4 separate regions of the Homo sapiens genome follow, and all the other regions are linked to region 3. Evidence: promoter capture Hi-C in 16 types of primary human blood cells and fetal thymus (Javierre and others, 2016). All regions are on one chromosome and are shown on one strand. The core of a region is centred on a gene start or on the middle of the fragment in contact, and the rest is flanking DNA. Distances in the headings are between cores, read along the strand shown.

Region 1 (5,619 bases), core at 2,090-4,589, 750 kb before region 3:
TAAAAACCCTAGAAGAAAACCTAGGCATTACCATTCAGGACATAGGCATGGGCAAGGACTTCATGTCTAAAACACCAAAAGCAATGGCAACAAAAGCCAAAATTGACAAATGGGATCTAATTAAACTAAAGAGCTTCTGCACAGCAAAAGAAACTACCATCAGAGTGAACAGGCAACCTACAAAATGGGAGAAAATTTTCGCAACCTACTCATCTGACAAAGGGCTAATATGCAGAATCTACAATGAACTCAAAACAAATTTACAAGAAAAAAACAACCCCATCAAAAAGTGGGCAAAGGACATGAACAGAACTTCTCAAAAGAAGACATTTATGCAGCCAGAAAACACATGAAAAAATGCTCACCATCACTGGCCATCAGAGAAATGCAAATCAAAACCACAATGAGATACCATCTCACACCAGGTAGAATGGCAATCATTAAAAAGTCAGGAAACAACAGGTGCTGGAGAGGATGTGGAGAAATAGGAACACTTTTACACTGTTGGTGGGACTGTAAACTAGTTCAACCATTGTGGAAGTCAGTGTGGCGATTCCTCAGGGATCTAGAACTAGAAATACCATTTGAGCCAGCCATCCCATTACTGGGTATATACCCAAAGGACTATAAATCATGCTGCTATAAAGACACATGCACATGTATGTTTATTGCGGCACTATTCACAATAGCAAAGACTTGGAAGCAACCCAAATGTCCAACAATGATAGACTGGATTAAGAAAATGTGGCATATATACACCATGGAATACTATGCAGCCATAAAAAATGATGAGTTCATGTCCTTTGTAGGGACATGGATGAAATTGGAAATCATCATTCTCAGTAAACTATCGCAAGAACAAAAAACGAAACACCACATATTCTCACTCATAGGTGGGAATTGAACAATGAGAACACATGGGCACAGGAAGGGGAACATCACACTCTGGGGACTGTTGTGGGGTGGGGGGAGGGGGGAGGAGGGAGGGATAGCTTTAGGAGATATACCTAATGCTAAATGAGTAGTTAATGGGTGCAGCACACCAGCATGGCACATGTATACATATGTAACTAACCTGCACATTGTGCACATGTACCCTAAAACTTAAAGTATAATAATAATAAAATTAAATTAAATTAAAGAAGACTTTCACCAGCCTATTAGGTGCTGTTGTGCAGCGAACAAGCTGTTAGAACAGAAAGCCTTGGAGTGATAAAACCTGCCTTGACAGCCCAGGTGATATAAGAGCAGTGCTATATAATGAACCTGGGTTTGGGCAGCAATCAACTTCTCCCAGCAATGTGGTTCATTGTCTGCTGTGAGAGTTCTTAAAGTCAAGCAGGCTTTTAAAGGAAACAAACCTTATTAGTAAAATGGGAGCTGCTTTGTTGTGTCAAGCTTCCAGAATTCGAGTTCTTACATCTTGTTTGATCATTAGTTGTTACTGAATTTTCTGCAGTGCTGTAAAACGTCATCAGAAGCAGCAATTTCTTAGTGATGTATTACATATTCTACATTCTCCACTAGGTGGGGATATTGTCTTGCAAAAAATTATCTCCACACTTAAATTTTTAAATTACACAAAATAATGTATAAATGTAATTATAGCCTATTGTAATAGTTTCAAACAACAGAGGTACATATGAATTAAAAACAAATTAAATTCCTCCAAGGTTTCCTCTCCAATTCCATGTCTTCCTTCTTTAGTGCAATATATTATTTTGTACTTATTTTATATGTTTATGTGTATGTACACTTACCCATTTAATGCATTGGGCTTTTTAAATAAAAACACAAATGAGGTTACCCTATAAGTACCATTTTGTCAGCGTGCTCTTTTATTTAATATAATAGTTCATCTTGGATTTTAAAAAAATATCAGTACCAAAAATACTCCTAAAACTAGAATAAGAGAGTAAGTAAGGCTAATTATAGCTTATTGGCCATGGGAATTAAATATATTTTGAAAGATAATTTGTATTTTCCTTTGATTTTAAAAGTTATATTCTACTCCTTTACTAATGCAACAGTCATGCTCACCAAAATAAATAAGGAGTGTATTTATTATAGTCATCCATATCATACTTTATGACAGAGAGGCAGAGTTTGTTTAATCTTTGGAAATTAAAGATTAAACAAGTTTTGGAACAATATTGTGTTTTATTTTAAAATTTAATTTGAAAATAATAAATTAAAATACTGGGCCTGGCATGGTGGCTCATGTCTATAATCCCAGCACTTTGGGAGGCCCAAGCGAGAGAATTGCTTTAGTCCAGGAGGTGATGTGGTGAAACCCTGTCTTTACAAAAAAATACAAAAATTAACTGGGTGTGGTGGCGCATACCTGTAGTCCCAGCTACTAGGGAGGCTGAAGTAGAAGGATTGCATGAGCCTGGGAGGTCAAGGCTGCAGTGAGCCATGAGCATGCTACTGCACCCCAGCCTGGGTGACAGAGCGAGACCCTGTCTCCAAAAAAGAAAAAAAAAAAAACTTAGCATGATTTCTTCTCATAACACATGCTCGACAAATGTTAGCTTCTTTCCTTCTGAGTAAATATAACATGACAAATCGGGTTTGTTCAAGCAGATTATTCTTGGGGAAATTATGAATAAGCTTGTTTTTAGAAACCTGGGATATGAGTAATCAAGGTTGCAATCGTTGTGTTTTTTTTTGTTTAAGGTAAAGAAGTAAAAACATGTGATGTAACTGCGCAGATGGTGCTGGTATGTTGTTGGAGAAGTATGAAGGAAGTTGCTTTACTTTTAGGCATGTTGTGCCAGCTTCTGCCCATGCAGCCTGTGCCAGAATCTTCTGATGGATTATTGACGGTGGAGCAGGTAAGGCACATGTTTATTCCACCATGTATAATTTCTGGTCAACGCATAAATCACTTTTTTTTTTATAACCCAACTCTAAAAAAAGGTTTAAAATTTTTCTTGAATAAAATCATACAAATGTTAACTGAAGAAAGTTCATGGTAATTTAGAATGTTAGACTTTATAATACATTTCAAAACTGTGGCATTTTTAGAAATTTTTTCTAAGGTATATAAATAACTGTAGATTTTACCTCACTTTTAACTGTAGTTTTATCTCTAATTTTTATTTCTCCATTTCACATACACAGACTTAAACTTTAGCTTAAAATTGTCTTATTTAGTAAAACTCCACAAATCTCTTAAATTTTGGAAAGAAAAAAAGTAACATGTTGGTTGATTATGGATCTCATGTTTCCCACTGCATTGATAATAAAGTTGTAGTCTTGGTTTTTTTGGCTGACTTTTGTTTTAAGACCACAAAGTTAGTTCACCATCTGGGACTGTTCAAGTGACTTGAGTGCGGTGTTTACAAGAAGTTAGCTTACCACAAGCATTTCATTTGGAAATATTTTAGATTTATTAGATTTCTGTTTTTAATTGATTCCCTCTTCCTTTCCATATGGTTTTGACAAATCCATTTCCCACCATTTTTCAGCAAAGATATATAACATGTACTTTCATTTTTAACTTTTTAAAAATAAAGGCAACTTTTTCCCTAGGGTGTTACAATTCAAGAACAAAACAAATATTGTAGTATGCTAATGCTGATTATTTCTATAATAACCACATGACTAGTTCCATGGAAATAATGCTAATACTTTTTTTCTCACACTCTGTGGCTTATGTTGCATGCATCTGGTTAACAGCTGCGCTTGTGATGTTGCAAGGCCTTGAGATGAAGAAAGGCAAAGGCGCACAGGACATTTCAGGCATCATTATGTTCCTTATTCTCTTCCAAATCAAATAGGCGTCAGTGTCCTAGAGTTACTTGCAGTCATTGCTGGTGACTGGCTGTAGTGCCAATGCCAACATCTTTGCTGAGGAATCCAGCTATGATTAATGATTACTTCACTGATGTTCACCATCTTGCTAAGAAGTAAACATGTGCTAGAGGCCTTTGATTTCCCAACTTCTCTTTCCAAGGACAAGTTAAAACATTTAGTTTTTTGGGTTTGTTGGGTAGTGTTTAAAAAACAAATTAAGGGAAGTGTATTTTGCTTTTACTGTAACTAAGACGTGAAAGCTTCCTATGAACATTATTTTGCCTTGACACTTTTCACATAGCACCCAAATCTTATGTATTTAATTTGTGTGCGACAGCCGTGTTAAAATTGGGAATTAATGTAAAATAAGAGATGTTTGTTAAAAAAAAAAACAATTATCACAAAAAGACAGGTTCTTATAAACCAAAGAATTCTTCCAGTGACTGCTTAAATAAAAAATAAGATCCTGACTGTTTTTCTGTAAAACATTAGTTTCCGTTGTAATGAGGTCCAGTCATTTTTCTATGTTGCCATTCACATGGTAACCTCACATACATAGGCGTGAGAAGAAACTGATGACTGAATGAGCGATGAACTGTATATGTAATAGCAGTGTTCTAACACTGGAACCCCGTCCCCTATGAAAAACTTGATTCTTCGTATTGCTGACTTTAGCTAAAGAAATGTCTCAGTTTAGGAGTCAATAAAAATCCAAAGTCATCAAGAAATTAGTGTTATTTACATTACTGGAGAATTCCTGCTTTTAAACATAACCTTTTGCCCCATGAACTTCCTTTAAATTAATAATAATTAAATATACTTACATGTGCTTAAAACCTTTAAGAGTTAAAAATATAAATGACAGAGAAGAACATCATTTACATTGGAATGGCTGGGCCACACCTGAGGTACACCCTTCCAAGAGCATAGTTGCCCTGGCAAAGCTAGATCTGTGCCTAGTGGTAAAACTATGAGTTTAAGAGTCAAGCCTTAGGTGAATGTGACTGCCGTCTGAATACACGGAGGCAGTGAAGTGACTTGCAGGCAGAATGCAACCCTAGTTAGAGGGGAGAATGTGGAACTTGCATTTCTTATTCTTCAGAGTAGTAACTGTGATCTACTTTTCTCTCAATGGATGAAGAAAGCCATTCCATACAGTCTAAAATACAATTCTATTCTATTTTGAAATTTGATGACTTGAATGTAGATGACAGTCCGTTTAAAATCATCCTGATTTTACAGCTCCTTGTTTAAACCGGTGGCCACTTAAATCCCCCATATAGGAGTATAAAAGGTAGGGAGATTACAGTTTGGGGTTTTTTGTTGCTGTGTGGGGAGAAGAAATGGGGCTTGTTTATAATTCTGAGTTTTCAGTGATATATTCACAAACCATTAGAGCTGGAAGGATCATAGAGATGATATTATCCAGCTCTCTTGGACAAGAGGAAGCTGAACCCTGGATGTTACCTGGTTTGCCCAAGATTGCAAAGCTAGTTTGTGGCAGCTCTGGAACAGGAACCCAGTTCTTCTCCTTGCCAGCCTGTGTTCTGACATGGCACAGTGCTGCCTTTGTGAGCTGCTCATTTAATTTTTCTTTAAGTTTAATTTTCTGTATTTCCCATATCCAGGTAAATTTTCGCAAGCAACAGGACAGTAAGATGACTTGCTACTGAACTTTTTCTTAAATGATTGATTCCCTAGAGCACTTCCTGTGAAGCAGTGTGCTGTCACCAGTTTCTCCAGGAGGAAAATGTGTTCATTCAGAGGCATGTCTGACTTTCCTCCTTCACTGTAATCACATAATGAAAGGTTCTTTCA
Region 2 (5,426 bases), core at 2,178-4,677, 820 kb before region 3:
GTAGGATTTTAAGAAAACTAACGTAGACTCCTCAAAGCCTCAGCCAATGTCCTGAGGAGTCCTAGGCACGTACAATTTCATTCAGAATCGTCCCACAATGACCTAAAATAGCCAGGCCTTCATGCCCAGGATGCCATCAGTACATCAGCAGGTGAACGTAGGCCTCCCAGGAAGGGCACGTGCTTGGATGTGACAACAGTTTAGGGAAACCTCAATGGGAGTGAAAGCTGGAAGCTGTCTGATTACCACGTTCGCAGCAGCCAGGGCAACAAACCCTTCCTTGAAGTAGGATCCCCGTATCTACTGAAGCCTTAATCCAAAAACATACAGTCATAATTTCAAAGGAGGTAGGTTATGTTCAAATTTCTCTAACAAGAATGTACGTATTTTAAAAGGTTTGGAAAACATCAAAGATGTATGATAGACATCAGTATACTGGAAATATACTAAAAATAAATTTTTCTCAGAGATACTATTGGCATCTGAAGCTATTGCCATGTAGCTTCCTTTAAGTTTGATGGGCAAGACTTTCATGCCAGAATTTTGGTTTACTTTATCCCATAAAACATCTAACATTTTCCATGGCAGATTGCAGATCACTCTCTCCTATGAATTTCATTTTTCCCATCCCTCCTCCATGACATCAGGAGCTGCCTATTCAAACAAATCATACTTAAACTGATTCATATGGTAGCCCCTACACTTGGAAGTTTAGTGTTATTCTTTTATGTTATAAAATAATTCGTCTGGGCACGGTGGCTCACCCCATCCCAGCACTTCGGGAGGCTGAGGCAGGAGGATTGCTTGAGCTCAGGAGTTCCAGACCAGCTTAGGCACGGTGATGAAACCCCATCTCTACAAAAGATACAAAAATTAGCCGGCTGTGGTGGCACACACCTGTGGTCCCAGTGATTTGGGGGGCTGAAGCGGGAGGATCACTTGAGCCTGGGAGGTTGAGGCTGTAGCAAGCCAAGACGGCACCACTGCACTCCCACCTGGATGACAGAGTGAGACTCTGTCTCCAAAAATAAATAAATAAACAATTCTTTGAAATTTTTTCTTTTTTTTTTTTGAGACAGAATCTGTCACCCAGGCTGGAGTGCACTTGTATGATCTCAGCTCACTGTAACCTCTGCCACCCTGGTTCAAGCGATTCTCCTGCCTCAGCCTCCCGAGTAGCTGGGATTACAGGTGCCTGCTACCGTGCCTGGCTAATTTTTGTATTTTTAGTAGGGACAGGGCTTCACTGTATTGGTCAGGCTTGTCTTGAACTCCTGACTTCGTGATCCACCTGCCTCGGCCTCCCAAAGTGCTGGGATTACAGGTATGAGCCACTGTGCCCAGCCTCCCTGAACTTATTTTAAAGCAAGAAAACCAACTGATTTCTTGAAATTTGTTTAATATAATAGATATTATTGAAGAATTTTACTTACAAATCTTTCTTTTTTGTTTCCTTAAGGGAAAAAAAATACCTTTTATTTGAAAAAAAAATTAACTTTTCCTCTGCATCTAATGATTTTTTTCCTCTTGGTCTCCTTTTTTCTTACCTGTGTCACCCTAGATCATCCTATTATTTGCTATTAAAATTAATGGCAAATCCGCAATTACTTTCACACCAGCCTAACATTGTTGCTCTTTCTTCAGGACCGCATTTCTTATCTGCTCTAGCCAATGCTTCAAGATTTCTTTCTCAGCTCTTAGCTCTTCTCTCTCTCTCTCTCTCTTTTTTTTTTTTTTTTTTGAGACAGAATCTTGCTCCGTCACCCAGGCTGGAGTGCAGTGGTGCGATCTCGGCTCACTGCAACCTCCGCCACCTGGGTTCACGCCATTCTCCTGCCTCAGCCTCCCAAATAGCTGGGATTACAGGTGCCCCGCACCACGCCTGGCTAAATTTTTGTATTTTTAGTAGAGACTGGGTTTCACCGTGTTAGCCAGGATGGTCTCAATCTCCTGACCTTGTGATCCGCCCACCTCGGCCTCCCAAAGTGCTGGGATTACAGGCTTGAGCCACTGCACCTGGCCTCTTAGCTTTCTTTCACACCTTACATGGATATTGCTACCAATAGGATCCAGAGGTCACGTAGAACATACTAAGGGCTAATTCTGCATAAAAAAGAATTAAACTTTTTTTTTTTTTAAGAGTCAGAGTCTTGCTCGGGCTGCAGTGCAGTGGTGCGATCTTGGCTCACTGCAACCTTGACCTCCTGGGTTCAAGCAATCCTCCTGCCTCAGCCTCTCGAGTAGCATGCACCACCAGGCCTGGCTAATTTTTTGTATTATTATTGTATTTTGTATTATTGTATTAATACAATAATACAAAAAATAATATTTCGTATTATTTTTTGTAGAGACAGGGTCCCCCTATGTTGCCCAGGCTTGTCTCAAAGTCCTGGCCTCAAGTGATCCACCCGCCTCAGCCTCCCAAAGTGCTAGGATTACAGTTGTGAGCCACCATGCCTGGCCAAGAATTATACTCTTATAGACAATTGAAAAATAGTCTGCCAGGCCCTCAAACCTCAAGGCTCTTGAGGTATCAGGTGTATCATCTGTTACCCCTATGCACTTACATCTCTAACTCTCGCTCAAGCTGGTATTCTTTTTCTCTGCATTTTTGCAAGACTACAGAATGGCATTCAGGCCCATTGAGGTCAGTTTATAAAATGCTACTGGGGCACTTGTTTGCCAGACACTATAACAGGAACTAGAGGAATAAAGATAGTACCGGCCCTCCAGGATCCTGCCATCTGATGGGGTAGACATTCATACAAACAGATCATTCCATACAAAATTGTAAATGTTAACAAAGAGGTAGATACAGTGTGCTATCAGAGGACAATAACAGGCATTTAGCACAATCTAGGGGTTAAGAAAGGTTTCTAGAGGCAATAACAGCTGATTTGAGTCTTAAAAGATGTGTATGAGTCAGCCAGGCCCACATTACTAGAGTATTATGTGCAGGTCACGAGCGGAGGTGGGAAAGGTAGCCCATAAGGGTAATGTATTCCCCCAAGAAGCAGCTACTGTATTCTATAGGCCATAGGGACCCGCTGAAGAGATTTAAGCAGAGAAGTCCCTTGGATTTTGGAAAAAACATTTGCACTGGCACAACATGAAGGATGGCTCTAAAGTAGTGGTTCTCAATGTGCGTGGACTAGCAGCTTTAGCATCTCCTGGAACTTGTTAGAAATGCAAATTCTCGAGCCCCATCCCAGACCTATTGAATCAGAAACTCTGGAAGCAGGGCCCAGCCGTAAGTGTTTTAACAAGACCTGCAGGTGATTCTGATATAGATCAAAGTTTGGAGACCACTACTCTAAATCAGCAGGAAAAACTTGACAGTATCTGGAACAGGGCTTAGATTAGGGTGAAGACAGCAAGGTGCAAAATTTAAAAAGCTCCAAAATCCTCAGTAATCAAAAGAAGTAACATTTTAATACAATACCAGGCTCTTTTCAAATTCCTAGCCTCAAGCAGTCCTCCCACCGTGGCCTCCCAAAGTGCTGGGATTACAGACACCACTGCACCCGACCCAAAATTCTAAATAAAGGCAGGCTGTTTGTTTTTAGACCCCGCGTTATTGTGCAATGGGGACAGTTGTTTTCCATCAGCTTGGGGTTCCCAAAGTCCACATGGCTGTCACATTCCCCATCAGGCAGATTTATGGGGATTGACAAAGGCGAGTGGACAGATGGGGTGACACGGGTCAGGGCCAGCTGTTGAGAGCCATGCAGCACCGGACCCTCCATACTTAGAAGGGCTCCATGCTTGGTTTAATGCTCTGCTGTCACTGTTTTGAAGTTCTTAATAAGTTTTGAAGAAGAGGACCTGCATTTTCGTTTTGCACTGGGCCCTCAAAGTTTCCGTCAAATTGTTTTGGGGGGTCTTTTTTTCCTCCCTTCAAGTTTTATTCCAGCATAGTGTAAATACTGTCTTTTTATTGTTGTAGAACTTTTATTAACTTATGAGGTGACATTTTGGTAAGTGTACGTAGGGCACACATTTTTTTCTTTTGCCTCAGGCTCCAATGTGACTTAGCACAGTACAGGGCTAGAGACATTTTTTGATCGTCACAACTTGGTGATGCTACTGCCATCTAGTGGGGAGTGGTCGGGGTGCTGCTAAAAACCCTACAATGCATGGGACAGTCCCCCACAACAAGGAGTTATGCCATCCAAAATGTCAACAGTGCTGAGATTGATAAATTCCAATCTATAGGGAAAGCAGGTTGTTAACAGTGTCTCAGAATGGGGCAGTAATAGCAAATATGGAACTATCTAGAACTCAATGATTAATCAGCTAGGAGGAAGTGGAGTTTAAGAGAAAAAGACTTACAGAATTTTTGCTTGTTTAGGGCATAAGTTAGTATAGCAAATTCAGGAGGAGGAAAGAGGCAGAAAGAAGTGAGGCAAGGCCGGGCGCAGTGGCTCACGCCTGTAATCCCAGCACTTTACAAGGCTGAGGTGGGTGGATCATGAGGTCAAGAGATCAAGGCCGTCCTGGCCAACATGGTGAAACCCCGTCTCTACTGAAAATACAAAAATTATCTGGGCGTGGTGGCGTGGGCCTGTAGTGCCAGCTACTTGGGAGGCTGAGGCAGGAGAATCTGCTTGAACCCAGGAGGTGGAGGTTGCAGTGAGCCGAGATCATGCCACTGCACTCCAGCCTGGCGACAGAGCGAGCATCTGTCTCAAAAAAAAAAAAAAAAAAAAAAGAAAAAGAAAAAGAAAAAGAAAAGAAAAGAAAAGGTAAAGAAAGAAGTGAGGCAAAAAGAGATAGGAGTTTGAGGCTGGACATCAAATGGAGGCGTTTGCTTCAGGGCAAGCATCTTGAAGTTCTGAGGAGAGAGATTTTAGAATTGTCAACAGGTACCTCTATTGTGAACCTCTGCCCCGCCCAACGCCTCTGGACAATTCTATTCCCGCTGCCTTAGAGAATGGATGCCACAGCAAAACCAGGAGACAAGAAAGGCAATTTTAGGCTTTTTAAGTCCCCAAATGATTTTTCTGAAACTCATGGTGGAGAAATAGTTCTGTACATTTCAAATATTTAAGCCTAACGAGCTCATAGGATGGAGTTGATTGTCATGCTATAAGTAACAGGCTAGGGACAACAGGCAAGGATCCAAGTACTTTTCCCTTTTCCCTGCGAGGAAATAAAGATTCTACAGGTGTGGGAAGAAGAAAAACAAAAAGGATGTAGAGAAAGAAACATCTGGGACAACAGAATTGGGTTGGGGTGCATCATGTGGCCACATGCAGAATCAGCACCAAAACCTCCCCAGGCTCCACCTAAGCAGGTACCAAGGAGCTGACTTTCCTGATTTTTCCAAGGTGCTGTATCTGGGGAGATCAATACAAGATCAGCAGATAGAATATTCCCCAGGAATGACACCTACCTATGGGCAGACCTCCTTCCCAACAGCTCAG
Region 3 (5,469 bases), core at 208-2,707:
AGATCCTCAGTGCTTCATGTGTCATTGTTTACGTCTCCTCTGATTACTTGTAGATGAGAAAAATAAAGAAGGTGGTGTGAGTTACTTGGGTGCAAAACGATATTCTAGTTTTGCACTAGAAGTGCTCAGCTAAAACTGTGCTAGATAAATAACTAAAAAAAAGGAGAGAGAAAAATGAAAAAAAAAAAAAGAGCGTCAGAGAGGAAACGGGAGGGTCTCAGTGGGGAATTCGGCTTCCTGTCGTCTGGGTTTTGATTTTGAGTTGTACTAGAGGAGTCTTTATGTCTGGAATGCTGAGAAAACCAGCCCAGGCCAGGCGGGCTGTGAGGGCAGGATTTAGAGGCGTTTAGTTTCTTAAACTCTATAGTCTGGATTCCGGTGTCAGGGGCCTGAGCCATTTTCCTCCTCCCCTACCCGTCAGCTCCCACTCCCTCCAAACTTCCTAAGAAAGTTCTGAGTCCTGCAGAAAGACAGGCTTCTCCATCTTCCACACCCGCGCAGATTTCTCTTTCCTCACACATGCACGCCCAGGCCCAGCGCCCCAGCCCCTCACCCCCAGGATAACTGTTAGAGTCTCTCACACGGGGCTGTCATCATTAACACCCCGAGATTCCCGAGGGCTAGGACACTGAGGCCGGTGTCCACATCTGCCAAATTCCTCCCATAGCTGCGTGCGAACTGAGTATGTTCCTAAGACGCCTAAGGAGTTCAGCACGGGGCTCGGGGTCCACTGCGACACTGCGCGGACAGCGGCCGCTCGGCTGGGCCTCAGGTGGGGAGGGCTCGCGGTCCTGCCCTGAGCCCGGGCTCCGCAGCTCGGCGCCTGCACCGCTCCCCTCGCCGAGCCCGCGGCGGAGTCTGCCGGCCGCACGCAGCAGGTCTGGGGCTCACCTTGAATCGGGACCTGCGGGGACCGCCGTGCGGCTTCCCGCTGGGTGAGCGCCGCAGCCCTGAGTGGCGGGGCAGTCATTCCCCTTTTCCAGATGGGAAAGCCAAATCTTGAGCCCAGCGCCAGCACCGTGTTCTCAGGTGCTGGGACTTCCAACCCGCGATCTCCTCACTGTAGTATTTCTGGGAACCTTCCCTGGGATTCCCCTCGGGGCGTAGAGGGAAGGAACGTCTGGGGACAAGCGTCCAGGAAGGGTCTGGATTCTTTGTCCTCCGCCGGGAGCAGGCCCCACCGCAGGCGCCAGTGTGTGGGGCGCCCCGGAGACGGTGGCGGGGACCGAGCCCCTGCCCCGCGGAGAAGCAGAGGGCGCGGGACGCCGTTCCCCAGCGCTGCCGCCGCCGCGCTCGCCAGGGCCTGGAGTGGCGCGGAGGGCGGCGGGCTCAGACCAAAGTCCACCAGGGGGCAAAGTCCGCGGGCCCCAAGCCCCCACCACGGGGTCGCGGGGGTTTGCTCCGCCTCGTGAGCTTGGGATTCTGGTTAAAAAGGCGGCTGGGCGGAGCTGCGGGCCTCCGACGGCGGGAGGACAGCGCTGCGAGGAGGCGCCCGGGACAGTCATGGAGCGCCGCCTGGGAGTGAGGGCCTGGGTGAAGGAGAACCGGGGCTCCTTCCAGCCCCCGGTCTGCAACAAGCTCATGTGAGTCCAGCACCCCCATGGCCGCCCCCTGCCCTCGCCTCCTCCCCCTCCTCCATCTGCGCCCTCACCTTCCAGCTCCGAGTTCCTGGACCCAGAAGCTTGCAGAAGGACCGCTTTAATCTCTTGGTTCTTGGGGGAAGATGGAGACAGGCTGTTCCGGTTCCACCACATCGGTCTGTTCCTCTTTCTTGTGACTGTGGCCTTGACTTCTGAAGAAGGCTGAGCTGGTTCTCAGGCTGTAGGAGATGACATGACAGGGTGCACCTCTCCTTCCAGGGCTGAGAAACAATTCTCCAACCCCAAGTGACACTGTGCATTTTGGGAAAACTCAAAAGTGTGGGGAGGGTGGTTTTCAAGGCAGAAATGCACTAGAATGTAGGCCTGGGGGCAGCCAAATCATACACCCCAACCCTGTCCCAGAAGCCACAGGCAAAGGGGGAGGCAGAGAATCCGCTCCTTTGGGAAGATCTTGATGTCTTGCTTTTTTCAGGGCCCCTCTATGCAGGTGTGCACGAACACACACACACACACACCACACCAGACCCTCCCTAGGCCACCTCTGCCAGTAGCCTCTGCCTGCAGCACCCAACAGGGTTGGCCATCCAGCTGCCATCTTTCTCAGGCAGACCTCTCAGGCCCTCCCCTGTGGTATGGTCACCTCCCTCATCCCCCCAGTTCCATGGCGGGGCCCCACATGCCAGCTAGATCAAGGTTTACATTCCCCATTTTTGCTGTGTCCACAGGACATGGTCAGTAGGGTGGCACCTCAAGGCAAACAGCAGGCCCAGGACTATGCCAAGTGTTTTTACATCATCTCATCTCATTCTCACAGTAGCACCGTGAGGGGGGATTTTCATAAGTAACTTTTCTAGTGTCACGGAGCGCCTGTGCGATAGGCTCCAGACTCAACCCACGGAGCAGTTCGACTCCAGAGTCCACGCACACTCTTGGTTACCATGCAATACCACATGGCCAACAGTCAATATCTCCCCAAAGATCTCTTCTATCACTGTTGTTGCCCACCCCCAATTAAAGATGTAGCATCATCTTTGCCTCCTTCCAACACTTCATCCCCATCTGCAGTCGCTCCTTCTCAGTCCTCCCTTCGCTCCCCCTGAGGTCTCGCGTCCATCTGCCCGGGCCTCTCCCTAGCATTTGGTGGTTTGCTGGCATCATTGGTATTCTTGCTTCTGCTGTACCACGCCCACCTCCACCTTCGTCTTCACAAGGCAGTCTCCTTGTGTGTGTGTCTGTGTCCAAATTTCCCTCTTTTAAAAGAACACCAGACATATTGGATCAGGGGCTCACCCTACTCCAGGATGACCTCATCCTAACCTAACTACATCTCAAGGACCCTATTCCAAATAAGGTCACATTCTGCAGTACTGGGCGTTAGGACTTCAACATATAAATTTTACAGGAGGGGTTACTATTCAGCAAGGTGAGAAGCTGCTGAAGCAAGCAAGGTGAGAAGCTGCTGAAGAGTTCTGGGCAGAGGAGGGGCAGGTCTGGTTTATGCATTCTGACTGATGGGTTGAAAGAATTCTTGAGTGGAGTTGTTTAAGAATTGTCTGTATGTACCTAAATTACATCTCAGTGAAGTTGATTTTAAAAAACAACTTTCAAGCCGGGCGCAGTGGCTCATGCCTGTAATCCCAGCACTTTGGGAGGCTGAGGTGGGTGGATCATTTGGGGTCAGGAGTTCAAGACCAGACTGGCCAACATGGTGAAACCCCGTCTCTGCTAAAAATACAAAAATTACCTGGGCGTGGTGGCACGCGCCTGTAGTCCCAGCTACTCAGGAGGCCGAGGCAGGAGAATTGCTTGAACCCGGGAGGTGGAGGCTGCACTGAGCCGAAGTTGTGCCACTGCATTCCAGCCTGGGTGGCAAGCAAGACTCTATCTGAAAAAAAAAAAAAAAAAACAAACTTTCCAGGTTCCCCAGCACCCCTTAGGCCAAGACCAGACTCCATGGCTGGTCCACCCTCCTGGACCAGCCTTCTCAATCGTTCCCCAAGCTCACCCCCAGTGCTTCTAATCTCAGAGCCTCTGCACCCAGCTCTCCTGTGCACACTCTTCCCCAGTCAAGTTCCTTGCGGCTTCCCTCCCCTCCTTGAAGCTCTATGCAGCTTTAAGTTCTTTAAGCATGGACTGTTCATGACAGCCTTCTCCTGCCCTGCAACCTCATCCACCTTTCCAAACATCAGGTCCACACGTGTGTTTCCGGTTTATTGGGCCCAGCCTCCCAAAAGGGAAGGAAAAGGAAAGAGACTGGCTCTTCCGTCTTGCCTCCATGCCTCCCAGCTGGGCTGGAAAGCAGCCCACAGGACAGGACACTCAGAAAGGACCTGCCAGTCTAGTTTGGGGGCTCAGACCTCCCCCATAGCCCCTCCCCTGCCATCCACACCATCGTCATCCATGCAGGCAGCCTCTAGGCTGCTGTGCCCTGTGTGTACAAATGGTCCCAGACCCAGCGCCTCCCCTTCCCAGAGGAAAGCCCTTGCCCCTGCCCTCTGTGGCAGGGCCACCTGAGAACACCCTGAAGCCCTACACAGACACATTCTGCTGCTTATTCACCCCAGTGTCTGCACCCTGAAAGGGGACCCTGCTGTGGGGATGGGGCAGGCTGTTCTCAGGAGGTGCTGAGGTATTTTTTGCATAAAAAGGTAACACCACACCAACAGCAGAAAGACTGAGGAGTTTGGGAACCCTTTTGTTCCAAACAGCTGACTAGATGCCCCACAGACCCAACGCCAGCGTGGGAGTCAAGGAGCCTGAGACCTGGCTCAGGTTCAGTCATTCCCTGGCTTTGTGACCCTCTCTTGGCTGGCTAAATCGGCTGTAAAATGAGAGGGTTGTATTGAGTTTATTTATTTATTTATTTATTTAAGACAGAGTCTCCCCCTGTTACCCAGGCTGGAGTGCAGTAGCGCAATCTCAGCTCACTGCAACCTCACCTCTCAGGTTCAAGCGATTCTCGTGCTTCAGCCTCCCAGGTAGCTGGGATTACAGGTGCCCACCACCAGGCCTGGCTAATTTTTGTATTTTTAGTAGAGACAGGGTTTCACCATGTTGGCCAGGCTAGTGGCCTCAAGCAATACATCCGCCTCTGCCTCTCAAAGTGCTGGGATTACAGGCATGAGCCACCACGCCCGGCCGGGTTTATTTATTTTATCAAATACTTAAATAGTGCTTACTATATGCTAGGCACCATTCTGAGAGCTTCCAAATATTAATTCATGTATTCTGTTTAAACTCTGTGAGGTAAGAACTGTTCCTCTATTTTACAGATAAGGTTAGTAACATGCCCCAGGGCCTGTGCTTATAAACACATGCCACACTGACTTGACACCGCCTGAGGCCCCTGCTAGATGTCACGGTCTCCTGCATCCACTGAGCCATGCCTCCAGCCAGGGGAGAGTGCAGGGTCCTATAGTCAGACAGCATGGGTGAGTGGCAGGTCAAGGTCGTTTTGCCCCTACACTGCCCCATCCTGGGAAGGGGTCTTCAATTTGCTACTCTCCTGTAATTCGAGATCTTGATCCTGTGATCCTGGTTGATGAAGCCATAGATTCACCACCACATCATTTCCCTTGTTGGGTCAGACGATGTGGGGGGACACACAAACAATGACAGACAGACACACAGACACGATCCCAGACACATAGACACTTAGATGCACGCAGGCATGAACCGGGGATGAGAGTTGGGGAACAGGGACAGTGAGGCCAAAACAGCCCTGCTCCTCTCCCAGGGGCCCTCAGGCTCCCTCCTGGCCCCCACGGGACCCGTGCTCTCTTCACTCCTAGGAGATGGTTTAGAACGTCTCCCCCACTTTGCGCATTGCAGGCACCAGGAGCAGCTCAAAGTCATGTTCATCGGAGGC
Region 4 (5,400 bases), core at 2,134-4,633, 780 kb before region 3:
TGTGGTGTTTTTGCCATAATGGCTGAAAGTGATCATGTATATGAAATGTCGAAACATATATACAGCTTGATAATACTGAACATATGAATAAAGGAGGAAAACTAAAATAATTTTTTACATATTTGAGCTATATTATGCAATTCATAAATTTGAAGTGTACAATTCAGTTTATTAGTTTATTCACAGAGTTGTACAACCACCAGCATTTCTAAAATTAATTTTTAATATTCTCTTTGCTATATTTTTTCTTTAAAAATTTTTTTCCTGAAATTTGTTTTTAGCATCATTTTTTAAAACTATAAAAGTTTCTACATGTGTAGTGCTTTAGAATTTATGAAGCACTTTAACATAGGTAATCTAAAGTGATCCTTATCAACATTTCTGAAATGAAGTTTTAACATCTTAAAAGTTAATTCAAACAACTTTAGAATATTTTTATCACAGAGAAGCCCCATTCCCCCAACCATCTCCAACACTTGGCTTTCCTTATCTTTTAAATTACATGTGTAGGCCGGGCATGGTGGCTCAAGCCTGTAATCCCAGGCTTGCAGATCTCAGGCAGGTGGATCACTTGAGGTCAGGAGTTCAAGACCAGCCTGGTCAACATGGTGAAACCCTGTCTCTACTAAAAATACAAAAAATTATCTAGGCATGGGGGCATGCGCCTGTAATCCCAGCTACTGAGGCGGCTGAGGCAGGAGAATCGCTTGAACCTGGGAGGCAGGGGTTGCAGTGAGCCGAGATCGCACCACTGCACTCCAGCCTGGGTGACAGCAAGACCCTGTCTCAAATAAATAAATAAATAAATAACTTGTGTAATCATCACAGTCAAGGTAGTGAATATTTCCATCATCCCCCAAATTTCCCTATGTCCCTTCCTGGACTATTATTATTTTTGAGACAAAGTCTCGCTTTGTCACCCAGGCTGGAGTGTAGTGGCATGAGCACAGCTCATTGCAGTCTCACTCCTGAGCTCAAGCAATCCTCCCACCTCAGCTTCCCAAGTAGCTGGGACTGTAGGTGTGTGTCACCACACCCAGCTAAATTTTTAAATTTTTTATAGAGATGGGGTTTCACTATATTGCCTAGGCTGATCTTGAACTGCTTTCTGGATTATTTTTTACAAGGTAAAAAGAATCATATACAAATTTGAGATCTGTTTTGGCTTTACTTGTAGTTTTTTGTTCTTGTAAATTTAATAATTGAAATTTGTGGTCATTCTGTGTATTTAATATTTTTAAAGTCTAAATTGTTATAAAATGAAATTTCTTTTACTAATCAGTTTACAATAATGGCTCATGGCTCATTTTTCTTCAGGATTAAAGAGCCAACGCTGGAAATGTTTCTGTCTAGAATCTTAGCATCCTGGACTAATTCAGCCATACAAGTCCTTGAATCAAGTTCCCCGAGCCTAACGGACAGCCTGAATGGGAATTCAAGTATAGTTGGGAGACTTTTGGAATATGTCTATACCCATTGGGAACATCCATTGGATGCTCTGAGACACCAAACCAAAATCATGTTCAAAAACCTTCTCCAAATGCACCGGCTCACTGTGGAAGGTGCAGATTTCGTCCCTGATCCTTTCTTTGTGGAATTGACTGAGAGTCTTTTACGATTGGAATGGCATATTAAAGGAAAGTACACGTGCCTTGGTTGTTTGGTAGAGTGCATAGGAGTTGAACATATTTTGGCTATAGATAAAACTATTCCATCTCAAATCTTAGAGGTGATGGGAGACCAGTCATTGGTACCTTATGCAAGTGACCTCTTGGAAACCATGTTTAGAAATCATAAGAGTCATTTGAAATCCCAGACTGCTGAGAGTTCTTGGATTGACCAGTGGCATGAGACTTGGGTTTCTCCTCTCCTTTTTATATTGTGTGAAGGAAACTTGGATCAAAAATCTTACGTGATTGATTATTACTTGCCAAAATTATTAAGTTACAGCCCTGAAAGCTTACAGTACATGGTAAAGATTCTTCAGACTTCTATTGATGCTAAAACTGGTAAGAAAAATGCATTTTTGTTTTAGTAGTTTCTAATTATGATGCTTAAATGTAGGTAGCTATGCAGATACTAATCATATTCAAATTTAAATATCACTTCTATAAATAGTAAAGGAAGAGATTAATGATAGATGTTTCAGTTTGAAACGAATGTTCCTATATATAGCTGAATGGAGTTTTTTGGCTGAAGTCATTTCTACAAGCTAAAGAATAATTCCACTTAAAATGATAAACTTTCCTGTATTACAAGGTTTTAATTCATTTTTTCAAGTTCTGAATTTATTTTATTGTATCACTGAAATAAAAGTTTGTGTGTCTTATATAATGTGCTTATTCAAGTCATTGAGACAATAATTAAAAATTGTGTTAGGCAAGGTTAAAGACAGGTAACTTGGCAGTAGCAAGTTTTTTTCTCTGGGGAAGTGACAAAATTCAGAGGCATGATCTCAAGAAATAGCCATCTATAGTTATTTAGAATAGGGGTAAACATCCCATTGAAACTCACAAACCCTACAGGAATCACTGCATTCAAGCATAATTCAGGATGTGTAAAGTGATGATCATGACACATCATATAAATCTTAAAATTATTACATTCTGTTTAACAAAGCAAGAATGTAGTATCGTACAGCATAATTTTAAGAAATATTTTCAACTAAAATTGTTAAAAACGTTCAGTACTTCAAAGAGTAACCATGAGGTAGCAGGAAAATTTGATTCCTGTATGCAAAAATAAGCCATTATTTGTAATTTTTGACAACACTTGTTCTTGAGTTTTTGAAAAGCCATCTGAAATTCAGGATTCAAGAATCTGTTCTGAAGTAAGGTTGTCTTTATTTTTATATCAAGCTGCCCTGTCTTCTTGGTAATGGCTGACGTCCTAGCCTCTGAAACCAGCAGGCTCTTTGTGTTCCTTTTTTAATCTTTACTAGTGAGAAACAGCCACTCTAAAATATGCAGAGAGGTTCAGTGTTTACTTTTAGAGAAGTAATAGTCTGTAGCCACTGATGTGCTTATTTCTCCACCTGATTTTATTTCCTGATTTGCTGCCTGATTCCCTTTCTAGGTGTTAGGGAAAAAGCAAAAATGTTAGCAGGTAAATAATGATTTGTTTATGTTAACGATAAGAGAATTATGCTTACTTGAAATGATTGACAAAAGGGCAAATCATATTAAATAATGATTATTTTAGAATAGGAACTTTAATTTGTGTTAGAAATGAGTTTAAAATGTGATTTTTATTTATTGAAATAAAATGTTAATTGGAAACATGAAAATTAGCAGCTGATAATTATAGTAGTCATTGCATAATACAGTAATGGTCTTTGTTATTGTGCTTTCAGGACAAGAGCAATCTTTCCCATCCTTAGGGTCTTGTAATAGCAGGGGGGCTCTGGGAGCTTTGATGGCATGTCTGCGAATAGCTAGAGCTCATGGACATCTTCAGTCTGCAACTGATACCTGGGAGAACCTCGTGTCTGATGCAAGAATAAAGCAAGGCTTAATTCATCAGCATTGCCAAGTAAGTAAAGAAAATTACCTGGATTTGTACATGCAGTAGATCCCTTTCATGTAGCAGTTCAATATAGAGGCCCCTACATTGTATCCTGAACTGTTTTAGGGAGTTCATAAAGAGAATGAGTAGAAACCCTAGTCTCCCAACTAAACTTTCAGTAGGCCCTTTCTTCAAGCTACTGAAAGTTTAGTTGAGGATGTAAGAAAACTTACATAAAACAACTGGAAACTCTTAGAACTGACAATACAGATACAAGCATGCCATCATGTGCCCTTAAATACATAAGGACTCGCTTGGAAGGCTCAGAAGAGACTGATCAGAGCAGGTGGTGCTTGATTAGGAAAGTGATAGATATGATTAGAAAAGAGGAAGCCTTGGAGCAGCATACAAAATGGAGGGACCCAAATGAGCAAGGTCTGGAGGATGATTAAGAACATTGCTTATCAGGGGTGGAGTGTTTTGGACATTTTTTGGAAAGGCCTAATGCTAGGCTAAAGACTTAGTTGGTTCCCAGGCACCAGCTGGTTTTACTAAGCTAAACCAAAGCTACTCTGTTTTCAGCAAGGAGTTACATTAGTGGAAACGTGAGTTTCCAGAGTGGGAGCAGAAAGAAACCAGGAAACCAGTTAGAAGTGTCTGGCAGTAATTTAAGAGTGAGGTGATGGGGTAAAAGGGGTCACTGGAAAAAAAGAAAAAGGAATGAAGCTGAGCATTACCACGGAATAAAAATCTTTAAGATTGTTGCATTTTATAAATCCCCAATTTACATGTTTAATAAAAGAATTGTATAGGAAATAACCCTAGGATCTTTGAGATTAGGAAACCTTTCTGAGGTACCTATTGGTGAACTGAAGTTTACTTTTTTCCTTTTGTAGCCTATGTAAGTAAGCAATTCAAGTGATTTAGGCTTTGCTTATTTCTTGGAAAATTAACATTTTATTGCTTGATGTTTTTTAGGTAAGGATAGATACATTAGGCTTGCTTTGTGAAAGTAATCGGAGCACAGAAATTGTTTCCATGGAAGAAATGCAGTGGATTCAGTTCTTTATTACATACAATCTTAACAGCCAGTCTCCAGGAGTGCGGCAACAGATCTGTTCTCTTCTTAAAAAGGTAGAATTTCCCATCAGAAGGCATAGGGAAGTGGTGAACTTTGTTTGGGAAATCGTTTTTAAAAAGAGCCCAGATTTTGGGAGCGTGTGGGAATGGTCATGGAATTGGGCTACCACATCTGTTCATGACGGCCGTTCTGTGACCTGTTCTCTCATTCCATAAAGCTTACATTTGGGATTAAAATCCAGAGTGAAAAGCACGCACCCCTCCCCCCACCATTTTTTTTCAGGAGTTCAGAATCAGCCTGGGCAACACAGTCAAACCCCATCTCTACTAAAATACAAAAAAATTAGCCGGTTGTGGCAGTGTGTGCCTGTAGTCCTAGCTATTTGGGAGGCTGAAGCAGGAGAATTGCTTGAACCTAGGAGCGGAGGTTGCAGTGAGCCGAGATTGTACCACTGCACTCCAGCCTGGGCAACAGAGTGAGACTCGGTCTCCAAAAAAAAAAAAAAAAAAATAGTCTTGCTCTGTCAGCCAGGCTGGAGTGCAGTGGTGTGATCATAGCTCACTGTACCCTCAACCTCCCAGGCTCAAGCGATTCTTCCTCCCCAGCCTCTGAAGTAGCTGGGATGACAGGGGCACACCACCATGCCTGACTAATATTTAATTTTTTTTTAGAGATAGTGTCTTGCTCTGTTACCCAGGCTGGTCTTAAACTCCTGGACTCTAGTGGTCCTGCCACCTCAGCCTCCCAAAGTGTTGTGGTTACAGGCATGAGCCACCACACATGGCCAAAAGGCCTTTCATTTTGGTGTAGTAAAT

The links. The method cuts DNA at HindIII sites, captures the fragments that hold promoters and counts their contacts. A CHiCAGO score of 5 or more calls a contact.
Region 1: a contact is called between a fragment that was not itself captured here and the fragment with the promoter of HAAO in region 3, in 5 of 17 cell types (total B cells, naive B cells, fetal thymus and 2 more). The highest score is 8.5, in total B cells.
Region 2: a contact is called between a fragment that was not itself captured here and the fragment with the promoter of HAAO in region 3, in 2 of 17 cell types (naive B cells and total B cells). The highest score is 8.6, in naive B cells.
Region 4: a fragment that was not itself captured here is called in contact with the fragment with the promoter of HAAO in region 3 in 1 of 17 cell types (monocytes); the score reaches 10.1 in monocytes.

Annotation. Positions count from the first base shown.
Region 1 is chr2:43,538,377-43,543,995 of GRCh38, reverse strand. THADA (THADA armadillo repeat containing) reads left to right here. Exons shown (of 38, transcript NM_022065.5): 21 at 2,680-2,837. Among named protein-coding and RNA genes, the nearest start is that of THADA, 55 kb to the left of the region's middle. The HindIII fragment of the contact is 1,448 bases long and covers 2,616-4,063 here.
Region 2 is chr2:43,611,318-43,616,743 of GRCh38, reverse strand. No RefSeq gene overlaps it. Among named protein-coding and RNA genes, the nearest start is that of THADA, 18 kb to the right of the region's middle. The HindIII fragment of the contact is 9,006 bases long and covers 1-5,426 here.
Region 3 is chr2:42,788,571-42,794,039 of GRCh38, reverse strand. It overlaps HAAO (3-hydroxyanthranilate 3,4-dioxygenase), which reads left to right and starts at 1,457. Exons shown (of 10, transcript NM_012205.3): 1 at 1,457-1,583; 2 at 5,433-5,469. The coding sequence starts at 1,504. RefSeq lists silencers at 721-810, 891-990, 1,171-1,610. The HindIII fragment of the contact is 4,290 bases long and covers 1-1,683 here.
Region 4 is chr2:43,570,945-43,576,344 of GRCh38, reverse strand. It overlaps THADA (THADA armadillo repeat containing), which reads left to right. Exons shown (of 38, transcript NM_022065.5): 11 at 1,318-2,009; 12 at 3,353-3,531; 13 at 4,483-4,638. Among named protein-coding and RNA genes, the nearest start is that of THADA, 22 kb to the left of the region's middle. The HindIII fragment of the contact is 2,843 bases long and covers 1,962-4,804 here.